Linked DNA regions of Homo sapiens: all the other regions are linked to region 1. The links are contacts of gene promoters, found by promoter capture Hi-C in blood cells and fetal thymus (Javierre and others, 2016). All regions are on one chromosome and are shown on one strand. The core of a region is centred on a gene start or on the middle of the fragment in contact, and the rest is flanking DNA. Distances in the headings are between cores, read along the strand shown.

What was found. Contacts are between HindIII fragments. The CHiCAGO score rates a contact against its expected background, and 5 or more counts as called.
Region 2: a fragment that was not itself captured here is called in contact with the fragment with the promoter of CYRIB in region 1 in 1 of 17 cell types (neutrophils); the score reaches 6.2 in neutrophils.
Region 3: a fragment that was not itself captured here is called in contact with the fragment with the promoter of CYRIB in region 1 in 1 of 17 cell types (neutrophils); the score reaches 5.2 in neutrophils.
Region 4: a fragment that was not itself captured here is called in contact with the fragment with the promoter of CYRIB in region 1 in 1 of 17 cell types (neutrophils); the score reaches 5.0 in neutrophils.
Region 5: a fragment that was not itself captured here is called in contact with the fragment with the promoter of CYRIB in region 1 in 11 of 17 cell types (non-activated CD4 T cells, total CD8 T cells, naive CD8 T cells and 8 more); the score reaches 13.2 in non-activated CD4 T cells.

What each region holds. Positions count from the first base shown.
Region 1 is chr8:130,015,262-130,017,883 of GRCh38, reverse strand. CYRIB (CYFIP related Rac1 interactor B) reads left to right here and starts at 1,324. Exons shown (of 14, transcript NM_001353258.2): 1 at 1,324-1,514. RefSeq lists silencers at 1,112-1,171, 1,222-1,291, 1,382-1,571, 1,762-2,031. The HindIII fragment of the contact is 5,812 bases long and covers 1-2,622 here.
Region 2 is chr8:129,785,325-129,787,946 of GRCh38, reverse strand. It overlaps GSDMC (gasdermin C), which reads left to right and starts at 1,323. Exons shown (of 14, transcript NM_031415.3): 1 at 1,323-1,936. The HindIII fragment of the contact is 4,714 bases long and covers 1-2,622 here.
Region 3 is chr8:129,804,220-129,806,841 of GRCh38, reverse strand. No RefSeq gene overlaps it. Among named protein-coding and RNA genes, the nearest start is that of GSDMC, 19 kb to the right of the region's middle. The HindIII fragment of the contact is 2,729 bases long and covers 1-2,622 here.
Region 4 is chr8:130,204,065-130,206,686 of GRCh38, reverse strand. The region is part of intron 5 of ASAP1 (ArfGAP with SH3 domain, ankyrin repeat and PH domain 1); the gene reads left to right. Among named protein-coding and RNA genes, the nearest start is that of ASAP1-IT1, 91 kb to the left of the region's middle. RefSeq lists an enhancer at 1,824-2,622. The HindIII fragment of the contact is 6,359 bases long and covers 1-2,622 here.
Region 5 is chr8:129,861,792-129,864,413 of GRCh38, reverse strand. CYRIB (CYFIP related Rac1 interactor B) reads left to right here. Exons shown (of 14, transcript NM_001353258.2): 7 at 2,080-2,185. Among named protein-coding and RNA genes, the nearest start is that of GSDMC, 76 kb to the right of the region's middle. The HindIII fragment of the contact is 2,029 bases long and covers 287-2,315 here.

The DNA of each region.
Region 1 (2,622 bases), core at 75-2,574:
AGCAACTCGGGAGGCTGAGGTGGGAGGATCGCTTGAGCCCAGGAATTTGAGGCTGCAGTGAGCTATCGCATCACTGCGCTACCTAGCCTGGGAAACAGAGCAAAATCCTGTCTTAGACAAAAAAAAAAAAAAGAAAGAAAAAAGAAAAGAAATGGAACAACTGGCTCCTAATCAGGTAACTCAGCACTGAGTATGATGTGAGCACACTCCAACCCCCCTATAGCTGGAGGTGGAGGTGGAAAGACAATGGAAGCCTTTGATGTAACCCTTTTGATACCCTGCTAGAGGACAGCAGAAAGATACTTGAGAGAATGTTGTCTATCTTCCCGAGAAATTTCTGGTTGAATGTCAAGATAATGATAGGATGGGCTTCTGGGCCAGGGGAGCAAGGCAGAGGGAAGGAGAGTATCAGTTTCCTAGGCATGTCCTGTTACAGGGAGAAAAACACAGTATTTTCCATTCTAGATCAGGGGAAAGATGAGGTCTCCCATAATACCTGAAACTGGAATTATGGCGAGGAGCTTTTTATGTGGGAATTTCTGTACTAAATTTAAAGTCCTTGGAGAACCGCTTAGGGTAGCACCGACAGCCCGCACCGTCCCCTCACCCCGCTTTATTTTTCCTCTGGCACAGCACTTAGCACCATAGGACCCATCAGATATTTACGGCCTGTCCCCGCTGCCCCTCCCGGGCAGGGATTTTGTTTTGGTTCGCAGCTGCAGCTCCAGGGCCTAGAACAGCCCGGGCACTTAGTAGGCCCAGTAAGTATCTGCGGGAGGGCTGAATGGGTGCGTGGACAGCATTCCTCTCACTGACCCCGCTGCGAGGTGAGCCAGGCAGGGGCTGTCACCATTCCTGAAGTCCAGGTGAGGGGGAAGCGACCCAGGGATGGGAACCTGGCCGGCCTGAAGGTCTGGAGACCGGGGTTCGAGCCCAAGCCCTGCCTGACAGGCAGTGACCTTGGGGGTCACTCTTGCGCCTCTCGGAGCCGGGTTTCCTCCTCGCACAATGAGGGCGATGACCCCCAATCGCAGCGCGCCCCGCGGTGACTTGCCCAAGGTCACCACCGTCCCGGGCCCGTGGCGCCCCGGCTCGGGAGGACACGGGCCAGGCGGGCGCGGGGTTCTGGGGTGGGGGCCGGCGCGGGGCGGTCCCGGGGCGCGGCGCGCGCTGACGCCGGGGCCCCGCGATGCGGCGGGGACTGGGCGCGGGGGGAGGCGCGTCGCGAGGCGAGCGTCCTCCTTTTGTGCGAGCGCCGGCGGCTCGGCTTCTCGAAGGTAAACAGCGCTTCCTCTTCCTCCTCGCCGCGCCTCTTCCTTTTATAGTTATTTCTCGCCTGGCACTCGCCCGGGCTGCTGCTGCTGCTGCTGCTGCCGCCGCGGCGGGGGCAGCTCGCAAACCTGTGGCGGTGACGTGAGCCCCGCCAACCCGGAAACGGCGGCGGCGGCGGCACCGGAGGCTCCGAGGCTCCTGCGCTCCCGCGCCGCGCTCCCCTCGCCCGCCCGGGCCGCCAGGTACGTGCCGGGGCTCTGAAGGCGCCGCCGCCCGGCCGGCCCGCGCGCGCGCCCCTGGATCCGATTTGCCCCCGGAGAGGGCGCGGGGTGCGGGGCGCGCGCGTGATGGGTGCGGGGAGAGGCGGAGGTACCATCCGGGCCGCCGGGCCGGGCGCTGCGGCGGGTGGACAGGGGGCGCCGCCGTGGTGGGGGCGTCCGGGCCGGCGGGCGCGGGGGTCCCGGGGGAGGCGCCTCGAGTGCGCGGGGGGCGGCGGGCGGACGCGAGGGGAGCGCGCAGCGGGGCCGCCGCCCGGGTCCACCCAGCTGCGGAGCCGGCGCCTTGTGCGCCTCGAGGCAGGGGGCGCTCGGGTCGGGGTGGCTGGTCCCTGGCAGACCCTTCCTGCGAGCCGGGTGTCGGTGCGGGGACTGACCCCGGGAGCAGCGCTGGCCCCCGGCCACCTCCCATCAGGGGCTTGGAAGACCAGTCGCATTGGATTTGAGGAACTAGAGGGGGTGAACAAAATCTCCACTGGCCTCAAGACTTCCTCCTGGGGTAGCCACCCGCCTGTGTTTAAAGAGCACTTCCTCTTCGCCTTTTATCTTTTCATTATCTTTCTTTTTAAATGGAAGTTCAGTGTTAGCGGGTGGGTGCCCTTGCAGCCTGCAGGGCTTTCCTGGGGCTGTGTACACACACACTGGGGTTGGGAAAAACCTGTGTGTCCTTTGAAACGTGTGTCCTGTGTCAGGAGTGGAACGAAGGAGGAATCGAGGTCTTACCATGCTGGAGCTACTTGGAGTGTGCCTTTGCTACCCACCCTGCTGCAAGAGGTGGAGGGGTGCGGAGGGATAGAGCTGGGGCTGCGGGGGAGTGTCACATGCACTTTGCAGCTATGTTTAATTCCTGGCCCTGCCGCTTACTAGCTGTGTGACCTTGGGCAAGTCGCTTACCCTCTCTGAGTCTTAGGGTCCCGTCTGTGAAATGGGCTGCTGCGAGTGGGGCCTTGAGAAAACGAGCGTAGATTTCCTGGCCTGCAGGGGGCGCAGTGATAGAAAGTGTCATTGCCAGTCACCTTGAATTTCTGCATCCCCAGCACCTAGAAAGGGTGCGTTGAAGCACGTGGGAAGCACC
Region 2 (2,622 bases), core at 79-2,578, 230 kb after region 1:
TTACCCTGGTGTGATTATTATACATTGTATGCCTGTATTAAAATATCCCATATATCCCATAAATAAATATATACATCTATGTACCCATAAAAATTAAAGACAAAACAAAACTAAAAACTACAGCTTTGCACAAAGGCTATTGCAACCTTAAACAAAAAATACTTCTGCCAGGACATCTGTCCACCAACTGCCTGTCTAACCTTGGACTGGTGCCACCTTTGTTACTGATCCTTGTAAGCAAAGAATTGATTCAAAACAATTGTGTAATCCTTCTTATTTTTCTTTTTAAAACTTTTTTCTTCCCTTACCTGTCTGAATACACACATAGTTTGTGATGGCACGCATATTCCCATTGCAATGCTCATTCTTGAATAAATATCACTGTCTTTTAGAGAGCTTTTCTTTATCTGTTATTTAGGTTGGTGTGACTCACATAACTGTTCCCAAACAGCTAAGTTACTTTTCTCCGACTTCTGGAATACCCAATAGCAGGTTGGGGCCTATAGAATGTTGGTACACAGAAGGGTTATGTATGTAATTATAATTTTATATTTCAAGTCTATAGTTTTTACAATGGAAATTATAGAACGTGAAAGTTAATTTGGAACATCGTGTCTGGTGGTGATATGCAGAAAGCACAGTCTGAGCTTTGTCCCAAGTGAAGTGCATATCAGGTTCTTACAGTGGAAAGGGAAGGCATAAGACTTTTATGAATATTAAAAGAAAACAAAAGTAAAGTAAATGCATTGTGAAATACTGTCAGCTGAAAGGAATGTTGCTGTATTGAGTGTCAGTTCCAGGAAGTTACTCAAAACTTAAAGGTGTAGCAATCCTGTTTATACAGTTTCTGCTCCTATAGGCACTTTACTTCATCTTGAAACCCATAGGGAGTAATTGGAAAGGACATGGGTTTCAGGCAAGTTTTTAATTCCTTTCACAAATCCCCTTTTTATTTATATTTAAAATAAAGATTGTTGTAAGATTGGATTTAGATAATACATGCATGGTGCTTAACACAGAGGAGGCATTAAGCACAGTAATTCCTGTTGTACAGAGCCCCACATGTAGGCAGTTCAGAGGTGCTTCCCAGGGCCCTGGCGCTAGTGCCTGTCCCTCCTGCTGAAGTTGCCTTTCCTGGTGTCCAGTGATTGAATTCTAAATTCAGCACATATACCAGAGGAATACGAGCCAAAGAAGTTGTTCCAGCTAGAGTTGCTGGGAATCCATGAATCAAAGACTTGCTCAGCTAGTTCTGTATGTGAAAGGAAATGGGTGTGACTCTGAGGAAGCCTTTTTAATTCTGATTCAGGAGATACATAATTAGATGCCACTTGATTTTGTTCCACAGACTTTTTGCTGAGGACTTGAGAGCTAAGGTTCTGTGATCCAGAACTAGTTCCAGACTTACTCTTCTGGAAATGAACAGGGCCCTCCTGTGCTTATTTTTCCAGGATACTGCATTGGAAATTGAGTCAGGGACCCATTGGTGAGAAGAGAACAGTGAACAGAATCACATTGATCTGGTCCTGGAGTTTGTCTGACAATTTCTACTTGACCGCAGGAGGTCTGAAGATTGGAAGGGGCCCTACTCAATTGTGCTATTTTTCTCTCTTTTTTTTTTTTTTGAGACGGAGTTGCCCAGGCTGGAGTGCAGCGGCATGGTCTCAGCTCACTGCAACCTCTGCCTCCCGGGTTCAAGCAGTTCTCTGCCTCAGCCTCCCAAGTAGCTGGGATTACAGGTGCCTGCCACCATTCCTGGCTAATTTTTGTATTTTCAGTAGAGACAGGGTTTCACCATCTTGGCCTGGCTGATCTTGAACTCCTGACCTCGTGATCCACCGGCCTCAGCCTCCCAAAGTGCTGGGATTACAGACGTGAGCCACCGTGCCCGGCCAATCCTGCTATTTCTCTACAGGACAAAGGGATATATAATCTGGTAAGTCCTAATGGGATCAGGGGATGAAAAAGAAAAGATTACTATCATCAGCGACAAAAATGTTCTGGATGGGTTTGTGAAATGAGTCGAAGAGTTTTTTTTCCTACAGAATTTGACTGAAAAGGAAGTTAAGTTCGTCTTAATAATGGAGAATTCCTGATAGCATGTAAGGCTAAGGAATATATCTTCGATACATTATTGCACAGGTCCAGTCTTAAAGAAGCATCTTATATTCTCATTATTCTCTGCTTGTCCAGTGACCTCTTACATGGCCCATATCAGAGAATTGAAATGGTCACATCAGGAATTTTACATGAACTGTTGAAAATTCTGTCTCTCTTCATTATTGAACATATTTAGAAAGTTCAAAAACTGAATTCCATGTAGTTAGGAAGTCCTATTCCTATTTGTTATAATTGTAACAATACAATTATACTCTTAATTGTAACAATACAATTATACTGTTTTAGTTATTTCTAACTGTACAATTATTGACTATAGTCACCCTGTTGTGCTATCGAATACTAGATCTTATTCAGAAATACTAGATCTTATTCAGTCTAACTATTTTTTTTGTGCTCATTTACCATCCCCACCTCCCTCCCACCCCCTAATATCTTTCCCAGCCTCTGGTAACCATCATTTTACTCTATCTCCATAACTTCAATTGTCTTAATTTTTAGCTT
Region 3 (2,622 bases), core at 78-2,577, 210 kb after region 1:
CACATGGTGAGAGAGGAAGTGAGAGAGAGAGAGAGGAAGAGGTGCCAGGCCTTTTTAAACAACTAGCACTCATGTAAACAAATAGTGAGGACTCACTCATCATCAACCTGGTGACACTAAGCCATTCACAACGGATCCACCTTCATTATCCAATACCTCCTACCAAGTTCCACCTCCAAATTAGGGATCACAGTTCAACATTTGGAGGGGATGCATTCCAAACCATATCAGACCCCACTTCTAAAAAATTCTTTTAAAATTAACCGGTGTGGTGGTGTGTACCCATAATTCCTGCTACTGTGGATCCTGAGGCAGGAGGATCACTGGAGCCCAAGAGTTCAAGGCTGTGGTGAGCTGTGATCGTGCTGCTGCACTCCAGCCTGAGTGACAAAGATGTTATATCTTAAAAAGACATAAACTCTGACATGAAGAATGTAAAGTGTAGTGATGAGAGAAATAAGTGTCGAGTTTTATTATCCAATTAAAGTTACATTGTTACCAGCCTATAATCCACAGTTGTAGTTATAAAATATTTTATGTAATCCTTGTGGTAATAACCACAAAGAAAATACCTATAGAATACTATGCAGCCATAAAAAATGATGAGTTCATGTCCTTTGTAGGGACATGGATGAAGCTGGAAACCATCATTCTCAGCAAACTATCGCAAGGACAAAAAACCAAACACCGCATGTTCTCACTCATAGGTGGGAATTGAACAATGAGAACACGTGGACACAGGAAGGGGAACATCACACACTGGGGCCTGTTGTGGGGTGGGGGAAGGGAGGAGGGGAGGGATAGCATTAGGAGATATTTTGTTAAATGATGAGTTAATGGGTGCAGCACACCAACATGGCACATGTATACATATGTAACAAACCTGCACATTGTGCACATGTACCCTAAAACTTAAAGTATAATAAAAAAAAAAAGAAAATACCTATGGAAAATACACACAGAAGAGAAAAGAACCAAAGTGTACCACTTCAGCTGAGCAGCTGCCCTGTGTGAAAAATACAGGGCTTCTGCCTCCTTCTCACAAAGCCCAGTCCACCATTTCAAGGAGGTGGAAACCTAAAGCTAGGTATCAAAGCAATCTCAAACGAGAGTGATGTTTTATTTGGTTTAAGTGCCTTTGTTTATGGGGCTTGGAATCAAAAGACCTCAGTGGGGCCTGTGCCTCTTGCGGGACTAACTCACAAACCTTGGCGAGTCCTCTTCTAGGAGTAACTCACCAACTAAACTTGGGAAGGTCATTTCACTTCCCAGTTACTTTTCTTTAGTTTCTAAAGCTCTTAAGTGCAGACAAATGACACATAAAATACATTGCATATTATTTAATATTGTAACACACACACACACACACACACACTCACAAACTTTCTATGTCCCTAGCATACTCTTTAAGTGAATACACATTTGATAAATGCATTTGGTTAAGTTAATTTAAAATATTATAGTTGGTTATTGTGAGTGACTTAGGTAAATCACATGTGCTTGAAGATTTTTCAGTCTCATGCCATAAAACATTTCTGCTCAGGATGTTATAGCATTTAGGGTACTTTAACTGTGAAGGTTTGTTGCTGTTGGTTCCTTATTTTTTTTTCCAGCTATAAAACCAAACATGTAGGTAATATAGCAGCCACCCCTTTAGATCTTCTAGAATCCATCATTTACCCAAAGCAAAATGTAGTATCACATAATTAAATTGACTTTCAATTTTATCAATACTGAATAATCTCATATATTAAAGCACTATAAATGAGAATGTTAGAATATAGTCTCAGGACAGGAGTCAGGTTTTCATGGCACCCAAGAAGTGGGAAATAATTACCCCACCCCTTCTGACCTCCCAGAAACAGGTCCTGATTAGGATCCAGTCCCCTCTTGGAAGTGAGGCTGGGCTGGCTTGCTCTTGGTATCCCCATTCCACTTTAGGGTGGCTCTGTGTTTTTTTTTTTTTTTTTTTTTTTTTTTTTGTGAAACAGAATCTTGGTCTGTCTCTCAGGCTGGAGTACAGTGGCACTACCACAGCTTATTGCAGCCATGATCTTCTGGGCTCAAGTGATCCTCCCACCTCAGCCTCTTGAGTAGCTGGGACTACAGGGATGTACCAGCATGCCTGGCTAATTAAAAAAAAAATTGTAGAGACAGAGTCTTGCCACATTTGATCAGGCTGATCTTGAACTCCTGGGCCCCAGCAGTCCTCTCACCTTGACCTCCCAAATTACTGGGATTACAGGTGTGAGCCACAACACTCAGTCAGTGGCTCTGTATCTTGACATAAGTATTCCAAGGATGGACATTTGCTGAAATCAATCATACTGCTATTGTCCTTTAGCACAGGAGTGCTGATCAGTTCTGTGGCCTCTGTTACCACATACAGGTTCTCCCTTCTCTTATGCACTGCTCCAGAAATAATGGTTCTCGGTCCATCAATCCAACAGTTTCCTGGGATATAAGGCAGGAGGAAAAGAGTAAGAGTTGGGGAAGAACACCTTCTTATTTGTTCTGAATTACACATCTCCTCAGGTGCTGGACATTGTGCAGTGCCTCTGGAAGTTGACAGGTGAACCCTCAATAGGTAGGAAAATCAATTAACTTTGTAGCTGGCCAAGA
Region 4 (2,622 bases), core at 43-2,542, 190 kb before region 1:
AAGTATTCTAGGTCAGCCAGGACTCACCATGCATCTGGTTTCTTCTCTCCGGAGGCCTTTGGACAATTCTATAGCTTGCATAAGAGCTTGAGTCTCATTAAACAGTTGGAGGGCAGTTATTGCTTCAGAGCTGTTGAAGCAAAGCAAAGATTTCTCCATCTGCATAGCATTTCCTGTTTGCAATCTCTGACTGTAGGGTATTGTGGTTTGTGTTAAAGTTGTTTTTTTTTTTATTTTTCTTCTTTTCTTTCCCCTCAAATAAGAATATCTGATAATGTACAGGTTGGATCTAGATTTGTAGCCAGCAGATTATTTCTCAAGTTCTTCTTTGAAATGTTAAAAAGTATGGAGAGCATGGATGTGCCTAATGGTAAAATTGGTAGCTTCTGGGTGCCCTGAACTATATAATGCATTTTTAAAACCTTATCTTTTAAAAAAATGGTCATCAATCATTGGCAGTTTTCAGCGTTTGATCTACCAGGTATCCCCTTATTTCCTGACATGCCTCACTGCCTCACTACCAATTAATACTGTGGGACATTTTGTGAAATGTGATCTATCCATGTGGGTTGGTGGGTGGGTAAGAGGGAAAGGTTTATTTTTAACTCCTTCTATTTAAAAAATCATACATATTTATTATAAAAATTTGAGATATATGGAAAATTTTAAAATAAAAATTATAATTCTAGCTTCTGTTAATATTTAAGAGTAGTATTTGAAACAATTTTATGGATTTGTACACAGAGATACTGCTGATTTGCATAGATATCTGCAGGTATAGGTATATATCTCATTCAGGTCCAAAATCCTTGGGGTTAGATTTGTTTCAAAATTCAGAGTTTTACCGATTTCAGAAGGGTGACAGGGTGTACATGCCTTATATTATGCAGCACACCCCCTAGTGACTTCTTGGGAAGATGCTTATAATTAAACACAGTTTTGTGTCTGCAGTGAAACTTGAATATTCACATGAAGTCTGATATATAAAGACTATTAGGTGCCCCACCTCAAGTCTAGTCAAGAGATTACCAACCAAATGGAGTCAGAACAGGTTTTGCTATTAAGTGAGTTTAAGCTAAAAAAAAAAAAAAAAAAGCCGTGTATTTTATATATATATATGCAAATTTGCTCTAACAGGCTGCATACTGTTTCATTGTATATCTGTACCATAACTGATTATTTGAATTTTCTGTTTGTCAATACAGGTATACCTTGTCTTAAATACATCCAATAAACAGGTATCCTAGTGTATATATACCTCAGGCTGAATTTGAATATGGTTTTTGTTTTTTTTTTTTTTTTTTCTTATAAGGATTCACATTCAGTGTTTCAAGGTAGGATTTCAAATAATACATTTTAAATAGGATTGCATTTTCAGCTTGTGGCTTTTGCATGTTGTTCATAGCACTTGTCTAAAGGGTGTATGCACGCGATATGTGTACGTGATTGTCTAGTATTATTTCACTTACATTTGGTATAGAGTTTTGGTTCTATGTGAGAGGAAGGAAGAAGGAAAAGGGAGAGTGGAGAAGGGAGAAGAAAAACCATCGCTTATTGGAGCAAAGTTTCATTGACCATAAGAAAAGATTGAACTTTAAGAATGATTGGTACTGGAATGCTTTATGCTGTCTCTAACATTTTGCTAATCAATATCTCTTTGATAAAAGAGCTGGTCTCACCCTCACAGCCTTAAGGCAGGTGAAGTTTTCATTATTTTTATTTTTATGGTTAACTTTTACTATACAAGTAATTCTGATAACAGGAGCTTGTCTTTATACTGTGGTGACTGTATGCCAGGCACTGGCACTTTGAGTACTTTACATGTTTTATTGGTTAAGATAGGCTAGGATATACTGCAGTAATACATGAACCCCCAAATCTCCATGGCTTAACATGGTTTATTTTCTTCTCGTGTGACATGTCTACTGAAGGGATCTGTTCTGCTTAGCAACAGCAACTCAGAGACTTAGACGCATGGAAGCTCCCCCTTCTCTACAGGGGAAGAGAGAGACTAGAGAAGCGTATGCATACTTTTCACAGCTTTCCTAGGTGTTGTAGTTCATTGGTTTGAACTGTGATCTTGGCCCCACCTACCTAGCTGCAGGAGACCTGGAAATGGGAGGGAGCAGGAGCTGCAGGAGACCTGGAAAGGGGAGTATTTGGTGAGCATTATCCTCTGCCTCATCTGTATGTAGCCTCATTTACTCCTCACAGCAGCCCTACCAGGTAGTAACCATAGTTACCCTTATTTAAGAGCTCACAAACTGAGTCACAGAGCATTAAGTAGATCTCAGATTCAGCATTCAAACCCAGGTGGTCTGCTCTAGGGCATCGGTCCCCAACCTTTTTGGCACCAGGGACCGGTTTTGTGGATGACAGTTTTTCCACATACAAGAGGGTAGCCGGGAGGATGGTTTCGGGATGATTTGAGCACATTACATTTATCATTAGATTCTCATAAGTAGCGTGCAACCTAGATCCCTTGCATATGCAGTTCACAGTAGGGTTCCGTCTCCTATGAGAGTCTGATGCTGCCCTTGATCTAACAGGAGGCGGAACTCAGCTTCGCTCAATAGCCCGCAACTCACTCCTGCTGTGTGGCCTGGTTCCTAACAAGCCACA
Region 5 (2,622 bases), core at 52-2,551, 150 kb after region 1:
TACAAGAAACAAATTTTTACTACCTGATAGAAATCATTACCAAGTCTGGGCCTGCGGCCAAAGGATTTTTTTTCATCTATATCAGCATATCAAGGTCTCTTTGAGATGTTCTCATTACTATAGAATGTGAACAAAGGATTGTTACATGTTGTAATGTCAGATTTTCTTCAATGTTACAATATTTCTAGATTAATGACATAAGTAGGATTGACTTCAGGCTTCTAATGGGTTTAAGCATCATTTAAAAATATTGAATAAAACATCAATTTGAAAATGGTGCCAAGCTTGTAAAGTAAATTGCTTAACCAGTATATAGCCCATTAATTCAGTTTGCAGCTAATTTGTTCAGAGCATCCGTTAGATCTGTCTGGGTTCAATTTTATTTTGCTTTCCTGAATTTTTGTTTTTTGTGTGGATGGAGTCAGAATACTAGTGCCTTGGGAGTATTGAGACATGTCATATAACCTCTTGGTAGTGTTTATAAGCAGGTCCCTGCTTTAGTTCTGAATTTCAGATGGTATGTTTAGTTTGTTTCAAGATGTTAGAGAAAGTAAATCAGGTTGTTGAAGAACATGTTAACTTCTGTAAAGGAGTACAAAAAACATCTATGGGCAAATGAAAGATAAAGACAAAAAAATATGTATTTTTGGAAATAACCCTCTATTCAGAAAAGATTACTTAATGATTTGAAAGACTGGGTATAGAAGAAGTCATTTATATTAAGGATCTCTAGATTATATTTTCTTCCCTTTCAGATTTGAAACTAGTTTTTCATCTTACTCAGGAAAGCCTGAGAAAAGTTATTATCTAGAATAGGATAGGATTTTAGTTATAGAGAATAAGTATCTGTGACAATTCTTCTTTTTTGTATTTTCTTTTTTTTTTTTTTAAGACAGAGTCTCGCTCTATCACCCAGGCTAGAGGGCAATGGCATGATCTCGGCTCACTGCAGCCTCCACTTCCCGGGTTCAAGCAATTCTCCTGTCTCAGCCTCCTGAGTAACTGGGATTACAGGCACACACCACCACACCTGACTAATTTTTGTATTTTTGGTAGAGACGGGGTTTCACCACATTGGTCAAGCTGGTCTCGAACTCCTGACCTTGTGATCCGCCTGCCTCAGCCTCCCAAAGTGCTGGGATTACAGGCGTGAGCCACGGCGCCCAGCTGACAATTCTTAAATCACAGTTTCAGCTTGATTTAGGTTCTTAAGTCGTAGGTAGTTTTCTTAATGCTAGTTTAGACCCTGGAATTTTAATTATTGGAAATTTCTTAGCCTGTTCCCAGAGTTGGCATCTTATTGTCTTACTTTTTGAGTTTTCTTTTCTACTGCTAAAATAATTCTTTGACAAAGAAATACTAAGAGACTCTGTGATATGGGAAACATATGCAATATTTTTTTTTGTGGATCTGCTGGGCACCAAGGCATAAAATATTTAACAAACATATTGGATCATTTTTAAATTTTCATTATGTTCATATCTATTGCAAGGATAACTAAGAATGTATTATGTTAGTTATGTATCTAACTAAGGTTGAAGTATCTATGGAGCTGAGAAGACCCACTCTTAGCACTCCTATGGAGTGTCTGTGGAGTTGAGAAGACTCACCCTTAGCACTCAATATAGAATATTCAACACTCAGCCGTGCGTGGTGGCTCACGCCTATAATCCCAGCACTTTGGGAGGCCAAGGTGGGTGGATCACCTGAGGTCAGGAGTTCGAGACCAGCCTGGCCAACATGGCGAAACCCCATCTCTACTAAAAATAAAAAAATTCAGCTGGGTGTGGTGGCGCGTGCCTGTAGTCCCAGCTACTTGGGAGGCTGAGGCAGGAGAATCACTTGAACCTGGGAGGCAGAGGTTGTAGAGAGCCGAGATCACGCCACTGCACTTCAGCCTGGGCAACAGAGTGAGACGCTCTCTCAAAAAAAAAAATATTCAACACTCCTAGATTCAATATTCTATATTTTATGGATTATACCAGTGTTTCCTATGTTTGCTAAAGCCTACATTTTAATGTAAAAATGAACCTTTTTTTTTTTTTAACTCTAACTATTTTTATTCTTTGGATTTTGAAGGCAATCCAGCATCCAGCAGATGAGAAGTTGCAAGAGAAGGCATGGGGTGCAGTTGTTCCACTAGTAGGCAAATTAAAGAAATTTTACGAATTTTCTCAGAGGTTAGGTAAGTTGAAAGTTTTGTAATTGTGACTTCCCTAGTGAAAAAGATGTTTATTCATTCCAGAAGTTTAGAGTTTTTTTATGTTCATAATGCTGAATTTGGCTTAGTATCTGTTTTATAAGTAAAGCAAGCTTGTTAGACTGTAAGATTATAGTTAATCTTCTTTCAACCCTGGCCTTTTAATTCATTTAGACCATTTTTGTCCACAAGTTATTTTCCTCATCATCTGTCGTTTTACATACATGAATCTGAGCATTGATTTTAAATGATTTTAAGAACACAAAAGTTTGACTAACCAAGGGCCTGAGGATTACTTTCCCATATATGGGAAAAGGACTTACTGTAGCGATGGAGAGAGATTCTACCAAGTGATTTCTCATAATAGGACCCTTTAGCATCCAAAGAAATCAAAGAGGTTTTCTTGAAATTTTTACTGGTTA